Linked DNA regions of Homo sapiens: region 1 is linked to region 2. Evidence: promoter capture Hi-C in human tissues and cell types (Jung and others, 2019). All regions are on one chromosome and are shown on one strand. Each heading gives the region's core, a stretch centred on a gene start or on the middle of the fragment in contact. The rest is flanking DNA. Distances are from core to core; before and after follow the strand shown. Region 1 overlaps RNF41 (ring finger protein 41). Region 2 holds the start of SUOX (sulfite oxidase).

Region 1 (4,797 bases), core at 2,216-4,715, 210 kb after region 2:
GTGGGTAGGACTCAGGTCCCAGCTGCTGGAGTGATGGGATTTTCTGATTTCCATCTCTTCCTGATAGCCAGTCGAGTTCTCTTATATCTCTTCCACGCCATGCGCAAATATCATGACAAGGCCTGGCTCTTGCACCATGTCATCCCCCATGTGCTGGTTCTCACAGGCCATCACGACAACAGCCTGCTTGCCAGGGATGCGCTTGGCCACGTAGTTCTCATAGTAGCGTCGGTTCATCTGTCTAGTCTCTAGTGTGGCCAGACCCTGGGGCCAGCTACGCTCGTGGGCATTTTCAATCAGCTCGTTGACAATAGAAGCAGGACAGCCACTCTCCACCAGGGAGCGCTTGATTACAGCCTGGAGCACAGCATCAGGAGTCGAGATCATCCCTCCCCAGCGGGTCACTCTTGCTGGCTGAAGGGAGTTCACCCACCTGTGTGGAGGTGGTTAAAGATGGTCATTCCAGCTCATCTCCTTTCTCTGTATTGGCTTTTTCTGCTAATAGAAATAACTACCCACTCTGCACTCAGCTTACCTATTCTTCCTTCTTTCCTTCCATCATTGGCTCAGAAACCCCAAATCTTTCCCCACTTGGTCCCAACTGAGTCACCACATGTTACTCACCAGATTAAATTCCACAAGTCTGCACTCTGTCTCTGTTACTTTTCTTTGAAATTCCAATACTTAGCACATATAGCGCCTAACACAGTTAGTGCTCTATGTTTAGTGAATAAAACAATTATTCCTCTATCCTATGTCCCACTCAGCACTATTTGCCCTGTATATATTGATTCACACTTACAGTTTACTCTATGAACTGTATAGGACTCCAGAACTGAAAGAGATCTTAGACTTCACTTGTATACTTCGCTTGTTTTTGCTGCATTTTAGAGATCACTTTCCTGGACTTGCACTCTGCCTCCTCTTCTCTGGGTTGTAAGCTACCTGAAGACAGGACGATATCTTCTATTTCTTTTTGGCCCTCCTAGCACTCCACAGCCTTTAATACAGGGCTTTGTACATGGGTACTCACCTAATTCTGGATAAAGTGCATCCTTGGGCAGGCTTTCCCTCCATCCACCCAAACACATAAGACATCCTGTAGTGGAGCTAAGGGTTATCCTCTTCTCCTCTGCCCCTGTCCTTAATGCCAATATCTGAGAAGCAGTGACCCCCAGCCCAGCTCTCCAATGCCCTCCTTCTGCTACTCTCCTGCTCTTCCTCCTTTCAGGCCTTGTTGTCAGGACATGAAATCACTCCACGTCCTGAGTGACACTCACTCTAGGATCTCGTTGTATTCAATTGTCTCCTCCAGGTTCTGAAGGTTGGGGTTGACACTGCGGATTGCACGCATGTATGCCTTTAGCAGCTGGATGTCTCGCTTCTGTTGTGGGGAAGAAGAACAGGAATAATGGTTAAGGCAGACAGCAGAAAAAAGACAAAAGTTTATCCAAGAATGAGGGCAACTGAGAGATCTGAAGAACAACCAGTTTGTAAGCTTCAGGAAGACAGGGATAAGACTGTCTCACTCACAGCTGTCTCCTTAGTACTTACAAATGTGCCTTCACAGAGGAGGCATGTGATAACTGGTAGGTGAATTAATGCTATGAATGGGATGAAGAAAAGTCAAGGAGAGCTCCAATCTGATTCCCTGCTAAGCCACAGGCAGAATATCCACTCATCTAGGCTCACAAGTGTAAGCACTGGTCTGTGTGTTCACAACTGGTTTTTATTACCCACAGGCAGGCAGTTATCTGCATATGAGGGATATGTTCTCCCCCGTGTCTTGGGGCCTACCTGCTCCGCCAGCTGGTGTTTGTGTTCAGCTGACGTCTTCTCCAGCTCTGCGATGCGTGTCTGCTGCTGCTGTACCACTGAGCGCAGGTGCTTAATGCAGTTATGGTTGGGCAGCTCATCTTTGGGCATCTCCAGGCTGCAGACCAGGGTGGGGAAAGAGCAGAACAGAGGTGATCCCTGGGACATGTATGCAAATGGCCTATTCTGTGGCAGATAACTGCTAAGTAGATTTTGTCCTACCCAAAATTTCTAACATTCATTTCAGGCCTCCCTCTTGTTTATTCCCTTCACTTTCTTCGTCCAAGCTTCCTACTTGCCCCTTTGCTGTCTATTTTCCTTAAATTTCTTTCCCCAATCAAGACACAGTGTTTTATCTATTTTTTAAATTTATTTTATTTTGTATTTTTATTATTTTTTTTGACACGGAGTTTCGCTCTTGTTGCCCAAACTGGAGTGCGATGGCATGATCTCAGCTCAGCGCAACCTCTGCCTCCCAGGTTCAAGCGATTCTCCTGCCTCAGCCTCCCGAGTAGCTGGGATTACAGGTGCGCGCCACCATGGCCGGCTAACTTTTTGTATTTTTAGTAGAAATGGGGTTTCTCCATGTTAGCCAGGCTGGTCTCAAACTCCTGGCCTCACGTGATCTGCCCCCCTCGGCCTTCCAAAGTGTTGGGATTACAGGCGTGAGCCACCGCGCCTGGCCTTTTTTTTTTTTTTTCGAGACCAAGTTTCACTCTTGTCACCCAGGCTGGAGTGCAATGGCACGGTCTCAGCTCACTGCAACCTCCGCCTCATGGGTTCAAGTAATTCTTGTGCCTCAGCCTCCCGAGTAGCTGGGATTACAGGTGCCCACCACCACACCTGGCTAATTTTTATATTTTTAGTAGAGATGGGGTTTCACCATGTTGGCCACGCTGGTCTTGAACTCCTGACCTCAGGTGATCCGCCCGCCTCGTCCTCCCAAAGTGCTGGGATTACAGGCGTGAGCCACCGCACGGGGCCTATTTATTTATTTTGACACACTGTTTTTATCTACTGCACAGCTCTCCTTTTCCTCCTACAGATTCTGCCTGTGCACTTATTCCTTCAGAGAAGCCCTATATTCACAGCCCCAGCTATCAACATTCTTTTTATTTTTTAGTTAGGGGGAACAGAGTCTCATTCTGTCACCCAGGCTGGAGTGCAATGGCGCGATCTCAGCTCACTACAACCTCTACCTCTGGTTTTAAGTGATTCTCATGCCTCAGCCTCCTGAGTAGCTGGGATTACAGGCGAGCACCACCACACTTGGCTAATTTTTTTTTTTTTTTTTTGAGACGGAGTCTCGCTCTGTTGCCCAGGCTGGAGTGCAGTGGCTCAATCTCTGCTCACTGCAAGCTCCCCGTCCCAGGTTCATGCCGTTCTCCTGCCTCAGCCTCCCAAGTAGCTGGGACTACAGGTGCCTGCCACCACGCCTGGCTAGTTTTTTGTATTTTTAGTAGAGACGGGGTTTCAATGTGTTAGCCAGGATGGTCTCAATCTCCTGACCTCGTGATCCACCCGCCTTGGCCTCCCAAAGTGCTGGGATTACAGGCGTGAGCCACCGCGCCCGGCCCCACACCTGGCTAATTTTTGTATTTTTAGTAGAGACAAGGTTTTGCCATGTTGGCCAGGTTGGTCTTGAACTCCTGGCCTGAAGTGACTTGCCCACTTCGGCCTCCCAAAGTGCTAGGATTACAGGTGTGAGCTAACATGCCCTTCAGCTATCAACATTTAGTCGAATATTTCATAACCCACAGAAATAAAAAAATAGGGCAAGAGGAAATATGAGAAGGCTGGCAATTATAGCAGTCAACCTGACAAACGGAAAGTAGTATTGGACTGAAAGGGAAGAATAGAGTCAATCAAGCTTTAATGTTATTACACAAATTTACTAAATTGCTGTGCCCCTTCTTTTGTTAAAGCAAGAGCAAAATGATTATAGTTGGAAAAGCAGCAAGAAAGTAAGATCTTAGAGCAGGAAGCCAAGGAGGCTAAGAATACTCCTTGCCAACATGCCAAAGAGACCTCCTCAGCTAGTGAGGAGGGCAGCCAGAGACAGGGGCATAAATGAGATGGCCCTTATCCATGTGGGGCAGAAGGGAACAAATCTCACCCACAGCCCTGTTCACAGGTCACAGGCCGCTTCGGGTTGTGCTCACAGTCGCTGAGGTGAGACATGAGGTTGTCAAGCCGGACAACGGCACTACAGCCGAACACAGCGTTGTCACAGGCAATCTGCAGCTTTGACAACATGTTCCGCATGATCCGAGGTACTGGGCGCAGATGGGCGACCGTCACAACACTACGGTCCACTGGACATGTCTGTTGCTGAGAGAACCACTGGGTGATGCAGGCGTTGCAGAAAGCATGTTCACAATGAGGTGCCTAGAAGAGAGAACAAGGCAAAAGGGGCGCAAGGGAATTAGCAGGACCTAAGAGCCTGGATATGATATAACTCTACAAAGCCAATCAAGCCTTTGAGCAGCCTCTACGACAAGAGGTCCACTGGGTCACAGCAAAGTATAGATCTACTACGGGCAAGGCATTGTAGGGGACAGGCTTAAGATACGTTTCCTGCTGGGCACGGTGGCTCATGCCTGTAATCCCAGCACTTTGGGAGGCTAAGGCAGGCACACTGCTTGACCTCAGGAGTTTGAGACCATCCCAGACAACATGACAAAACCCCATCTCTACAAAAATTACAAAAATTAGCCGGGCATAGGCCGGGCGCAGTGGCTCACGCCTGTAATCTCAGCACTTTGGGAGGCCGAGGCAGGCGGATCATGAGGTCAGGAGTTCAAGACCAGCCTGACCGACATGGTGAAACCCTGTCTCTACTAAAAATAAAAAAATTAGCCAGGGGTGGTGGCGCATGCCTGTAATCACAGCTACTCAGGAGGCTAAGGCAGGAGAATAGCTTGAACCCAGGAGGTGGAGGTTGCAGTGAGCCAAGATCACACCACTGCACTCTAGCCTGGG
Region 2 (5,547 bases), core at 2,932-5,431:
CCTCTGATTTATACATATGCATTTTTTCCCCTCTGGCCTTTAGATGGCCTCAGCCCCAGCCACCATATACCCCTGCAGTTTGCACTTTAATTGATGGTAGTTCAGTTGGGGTACTTGTTTTATGGAAGTTTTGATTGATTTACTTGCCCTCCCACCTTCTTTTTAATTCAATGAAATCTGAGGTTAATGCGAGGTTCGAGGAGAGGTTATAGATAAAACTACCAGTGGCAGCTACTCAAGTCCTATCTCCACTGTTAGCTTCCTCCAACTCTAATTATTAACCTATATTCTTGCCAAGCTAACTATTGACTATAGGTTTGCCTTTCCTGGAGAATTAATTGAGCAATTGAGGAGTGTCTCAGGATAGCACAGGCCAAGGTAGGGGAGTAAAAAGGAGGTCAGGCAAAAGGGAGGAGTTTTCTGTCCTTTCCCAGGTTTCACACTCAATTTGATATCCATTACCATGTCTTTTCTACTTCCTTGTAAATAGGTATGATCTTTATTCCCACTGTACAGTCTGTTCTATCCTCTGCCTCCCATCAGGCCCTGTTTCTTTGTTCCTTTGTTAATATCTTGAATTTAGTCCCTCCATCCTTAATCCCCCCATCCCTCCCCATCATGCAACCAGTGGTTTAATCCATGTACCAATAGGGGCTAGTACCACAGAGGCCTCCTGTGGTGCCCTCGTATCATACCACCTGTTCCTGTGGAGAGGGAATGACCGGCACTGAAGGTACCTTACAACTGGCTCATATTATCAGAGGACCTTGGTCCTTTCTAAATCTCTAGTCTCTCTTCATATCCTTCATCAGGTGTTTTAAGATGTCTCTGAGAAGCCATCAAGGCAAAAGAGAACTTTAAGTTCCTTGTTCCAGCCCGGAGTTTTGGGAAAGAAAGAAAGGAAAGGTCACAGTGACCTAGGATTGGAACCTTCCTGCCCTTTTGGCTTGCAGACTGCCTTCTATCCCAGAACAGCTGAGAAATCTATGAAGCTGAGATTCTGAAGGACCCAGCTTAGGTTCTTCCACTTAGGCCTCAATTCCCTTCCTTTTCCAGGGGCAGCCTTAGTTCCCATGGCCCTGAAACACACACATTTCCCCCTTCCTTTCCCAGAAGCCACTGGCCCCCCATAGCACCCAGTGCATCCTTTTTACAAGTGGAAGAACTAGGATGGCTTTCCAAAGTCTTCTAGAAATGAAGTTCTTTCTCTGTGCAGCTTTCCCCCTTGGAGCAGGAGTGAAGATGTTTCATTATCTTGGGCCTGGGAAACCACTTCCCCAGGCTTCTCCCTCCCCCCACCCCCATAGGAACAGGATTTGGCCTTAGCTTCTGGGCCTATCGGCTGCCTTCCCTCTACTTCCTACCACCTCTTCTGCCTTCCTTTGAGCTCTGTTGGGCTTGGGGATCTTAGTTTTCTTTTGTTTATTTCCCAGCTCATTTTTTTCTTCTGGTCAGTTTTTTTAAGGGGGGGTGTTGTGGTTTTTTGTTTTTGTTTTGCTTCTGAGAAAGCATTTGCCTTTCTTCCTCTCCCAACATAACAATCGTGGTAACAGAATGCGACTGCTGATTTACCGATGTATTTAATGTAAGTAAAAAAAGGAAAAAAAGAAAAGGGCATTGGAGTGTTGCTTTTTTTTATTTTATTGTTATTATTATTATTATTTTTGCTATTTGTCAGGTACTAGGAATTTGGAAGAAAGGATACCCAGTAATGTTCTACTGAATCAGAAACACACCTTTCCCTGCATCTTGATACATCTTTATTCCCTTTAATCTTTTCTTAAACATCTAGTTTAGAAAATAGCCCTTCTATTGCTATTTAATCACCCCTCTTCTAAGGCCACTAGATTGTTCATCAAATCAAACCCTATTATATCTTTTTAGGCCCTCTTAACAGAATGTATATGTGTAGGGTATGGTCTGTGGATCTTTGGGCCCACTGATCAGATTAGAGAGAGGGGTGCTATTTGAAGTAGTATACAAAAATGTATGTGCATATTTCTTTTTTTTTTTTTAATTGAGACGGAGTCTCTGTCGCTAGCCTGGAGTACAGTGGCACGATCTTGGCTCACAGCAATCTCCGCCTCCTGAGTTCAAGTGATTCTCCTGCCTCAGCCTCCTGAGTAGCTAGGATTACAGGCACGCACCAACACACCCAGCTAATTTTTGTATTTTTAGTAGAGACGGGGTTTCACCATGTTGGTCAGGCTGGTCTTGAACTCCTGACCTCGTGATCCACCCACCTTGGCCTCCCAAAGTGCTGGGATTACGGGCGTGAGCCACTGCGCCCGGCCGTATGTGCATATTTCTAGGATCCATTTCTATATGTTTCTCAAAGGGGTCCATGACCCAAAGGTTGAAAAACATCACTGAGTTAGTTTTCTTGTAGCTTCCACCTCAACGGGAAAATTTCCTCTGGATCTGCTCTTGACTCCTAGTGTACTTCAAACCCTTCAGTCCACCACAGTCTAAAGGTCGAGGGAAGGGAAATGAAATAGGATTATGTGTGGTTGCAGTAGGCTTTAAATTCCAAAGAATCTGAAGGTGGATAGGAAAGAGGACTGGTGCCAGACAAATCTGACATTCTAGGCCTGTCTCTGTCAACTTAACCAGCTGTGGCCTTGATCAAGTTAGTTAGTGCCTTCCGCCTCGTTTCTTCATCTGTAAAGTAAAAGCTGAAGATTAAGGTCAATTATGTAAAGTATGTGTGTCACACAAAAGTAGATGACACTATTAGGAAGGAGGCTTTTAGATAGTCCCTAACTGACTTCTCTGTATCTTCCTTTGGCTGAGACTTTTTTTTTTTTAGGTTGAAGCTCGCTTTCTCTCTCTCTCCCTCTTTCTCCCTCTCTCTCTCTCTCTCACTCTCTCTCTCTCCATATATATATACATATATATATATATATATATTTTTTTTTTAACAACTGGTAGGATAGGTTGGGCATTAGCCTTCTTCAGTGATTTGATTGTATACAGATTGAAATCCTTTCCATTTCCAAACACTTAAGAGCCAAAGCCAACTTGCCAACTTTTCACTGTCGGTTCCCTTACCTTATATCTCTTGGTAATACCCCCCACCCCCGTTCCCTGATTCCTGGTAAAAGCTCTAGTTGGAGAGCCGAAAGGAAAGGAAATGATCTTTCAAAATTAAAGGTGAACACCTTCACTTAAACTGATTAAAATTGCAGCTCCACCGTCCGGCCTCTAGAGGGCAGTGTATGGATACATTTGTCCAGATTGGGGGACTAGGTTTGATAAATTTTGTCCTGCATCAAATGACAAAAGGGTAATAGGAAATGTATTATATTTATGCCCCTTACTTTGAGATAAGAGACTACAACCTTCATACTTCGGGGTGTTAAGCTGCCATTGCTCTTGTTAAGGGGCAGTTTGTTTTTTAAGAGATGGGGTCTTGCTCTGTTGTCCAGGCTGGAGTGCAGTGCCGCGATCTTGGCTCAGTGCAACCTCGAACTCCTGGGCTTAAGCGATCCTCCCGCCTCAGCCTCCCGAGTACTGGGACTACAGGCGTGTGCCACCAAGGGGCGATTATTATTTTTTTTTTCTACGCAAAATAAAAGACGGCTATTCAGTGTTGTTGTTTCATTTTTGTTTGGGGAGAAATTCGACTAGCCCAAGGAATCTCAAATTCTTGGAACCACTATTTTAGGCATTTCTGTTATCATTCCTGGAATACGAGAACTAAGCGATTGACTTTGCTTTCCCTAAAAGATAAACAGGGTAGTTGTAGTTGCAACAGAGTAGATAGAGGTAGGTCTACCCTGGGTTTAAAGTGGAGATCACAGCCGGGGAAAACCGGACTGGATCCCGAGGCCTCCTCCAGGGAGGGGCGGCAGGGGTGTCTCAAAATCTCCCACCTGTCAGCCCAACTTTTGGATTCCTTGTCACCTTCCACACTGCCCGAGCTCCGGACATACAGCCCTGGTGCACAAGGGTCCCATTCTTTGCACACCAGGGGTATAATGGACTCCGGACTGTTGGCGAGAGTGACAGCAAAAAGAGCCAGCCTCTTCTCCCAGGCTTCTTAGCAACCTGCCTGTCTCGGCTCCAGGAGGCGGGTTCCAGCCAATGGTTGAGCCACCCGCTTCCAGCCAATGGCTGAGGGATAAGCTGAGGGGAGTGAGAGGTCACTTACTGCAGCCGGACATAACGGCGCTGGCCCCGCCCCTTCTCGAGAACTCGCAGAGCTGGGCTGGTAAAATTGCAGTGCTGAAGACACTGGACCCGGTAAGGAGACTGGGGGTGGTAAAGAAGCTGGGGAGGAAGGGCTGCTGAGCTGGGCAGCGGAGGGGGCCTTGGTGTCCAGCTGTGCTCCGAACCTCAAGGGCAACAAAACTATCAGTACCTGCCTCCACTCCTTCTGTCTGGGTGCTCTTGAGATCGCGGGGTGTTGCCGCAAGACCCTTTTGTGCCTGGATGCCGGACGTATGTTCCTACCTAACGTGCCCATGGGGAGTGAGGGGTCATCACCTGCACCAACGGGTGGCATTTCTGTATTACAGCAAAAGGCTGTCCCTCCCAAACCTGGGATTCTGGGCTCACTGAGTTCACCTGCGAGTCAGCCCTACCTGCACTGCTCTGGTCTAGTACAAACAGGCTGCTGGCATTGAGGTAGGTGGCAGAGAGAGTAATGGTCCCATGGCCCAGGGGCAAGGTGAAGACTGCTCCTATTCCCATCTCTAGGTTTCCTTTCCTCCCTACCCACGACCCACCCACCCCAGCACATTGGTCTCCAGCATCTCATCAGCAGTTTAGACATTTGTCACCCCTCCTCACTTTGGCCCTGCTGGGTCAGTGCTCTCTGTTCAGCAATTTGAGGAAGAAACTTGCAGGGCAGAGAGCAGAAAAATTACCTTCCTTCTCCAGCCTGCCCCTGACACTCTGGCCATTAACTCCTCAATTTGCTGAGCTCACTACAGTGGCACAGAGAAGATTGAGGTGGTCCGGGACCCTAGGTTGGGGTCCAGTTCCCAGCTGGGTTCAATTTTTTTTAGGGTGAATGGAGGGAGAGTTGGGGACTGAAAAGCCTTCAAAGACAATGTTATTACAGCAGTCTCCCCTTATCCAAAGTTTCCTTTTCCTGAGTTTCAGTTAGCTATGGTCAACCGCTTGGAAAATAGTTGAACACAGTACAATAAGATATTTTGAGGCTGGGAGTGGTGGCTCATGCCTGTAATAATCCCAGGACTTTGTGAGACCAAGTTTGAAGGATCACTTGAACCCAGGAGTTTGAGACCAGCCTGGGCAACATAGTAAGACCTCATCTCTACAAAAAAAAAAAAAAAAAGACCATGCATGGTGGCACACGCCTGTGGTCCCCGCTACTCAGGAGGTTGAGGCAGGAGGATGGCTTGAGCCCAGAAGTTTGATGCTATAGTGAGCTGAGATCACGCCACTGCACTCCAGCCTGGGCAGAGCAAGACCCTGTCAGGGGCAGGGGGAGGGGAGGGGAAGCCGGACAGTGGCTCATGCCTGTAATCCCAGCACTTTGGGGGCTAAGGCAGCAAGAGGCCAGGAGTTCAAGACCAG

What was found. Contacts are between HindIII fragments. The study calls those that stand out against the background at their distance.
Region 1: a fragment that was not itself captured here is called in contact with the fragment with the promoter of SUOX in region 2 in 1 of the 25 tissues and cell types used here (pancreas).

Annotation. Positions count from the first base shown.
Region 1 is chr12:56,206,366-56,211,162 of GRCh38, forward strand. It overlaps RNF41 (ring finger protein 41), which reads right to left. Exons shown (of 7, transcript NM_005785.4): 4 at 3,932-4,203; 5 at 1,798-1,933; 6 at 1,281-1,384; 7 at 1-433. The coding sequence ends at 82. Among named protein-coding and RNA genes, the nearest start is that of RNF41, 13 kb to the right of the region's middle. RefSeq lists a silencer at 1,765-1,814. The HindIII fragment of the contact is 6,706 bases long and covers 113-4,797 here.
Region 2 is chr12:55,993,095-55,998,641 of GRCh38, forward strand. SUOX (sulfite oxidase) reads left to right here and starts at 4,182. Exons shown (of 5, transcript NM_001032386.2): 1 at 4,182-4,245; 2 at 4,521-4,629. It overlaps RAB5B (RAB5B, member RAS oncogene family), which reads left to right. Exons shown (of 6, transcript NM_002868.4): 6 at 1-3,589. RefSeq lists an enhancer at 3,956-4,456 and a silencer at 4,042-4,231. The HindIII fragment of the contact is 9,188 bases long and covers 1-5,547 here.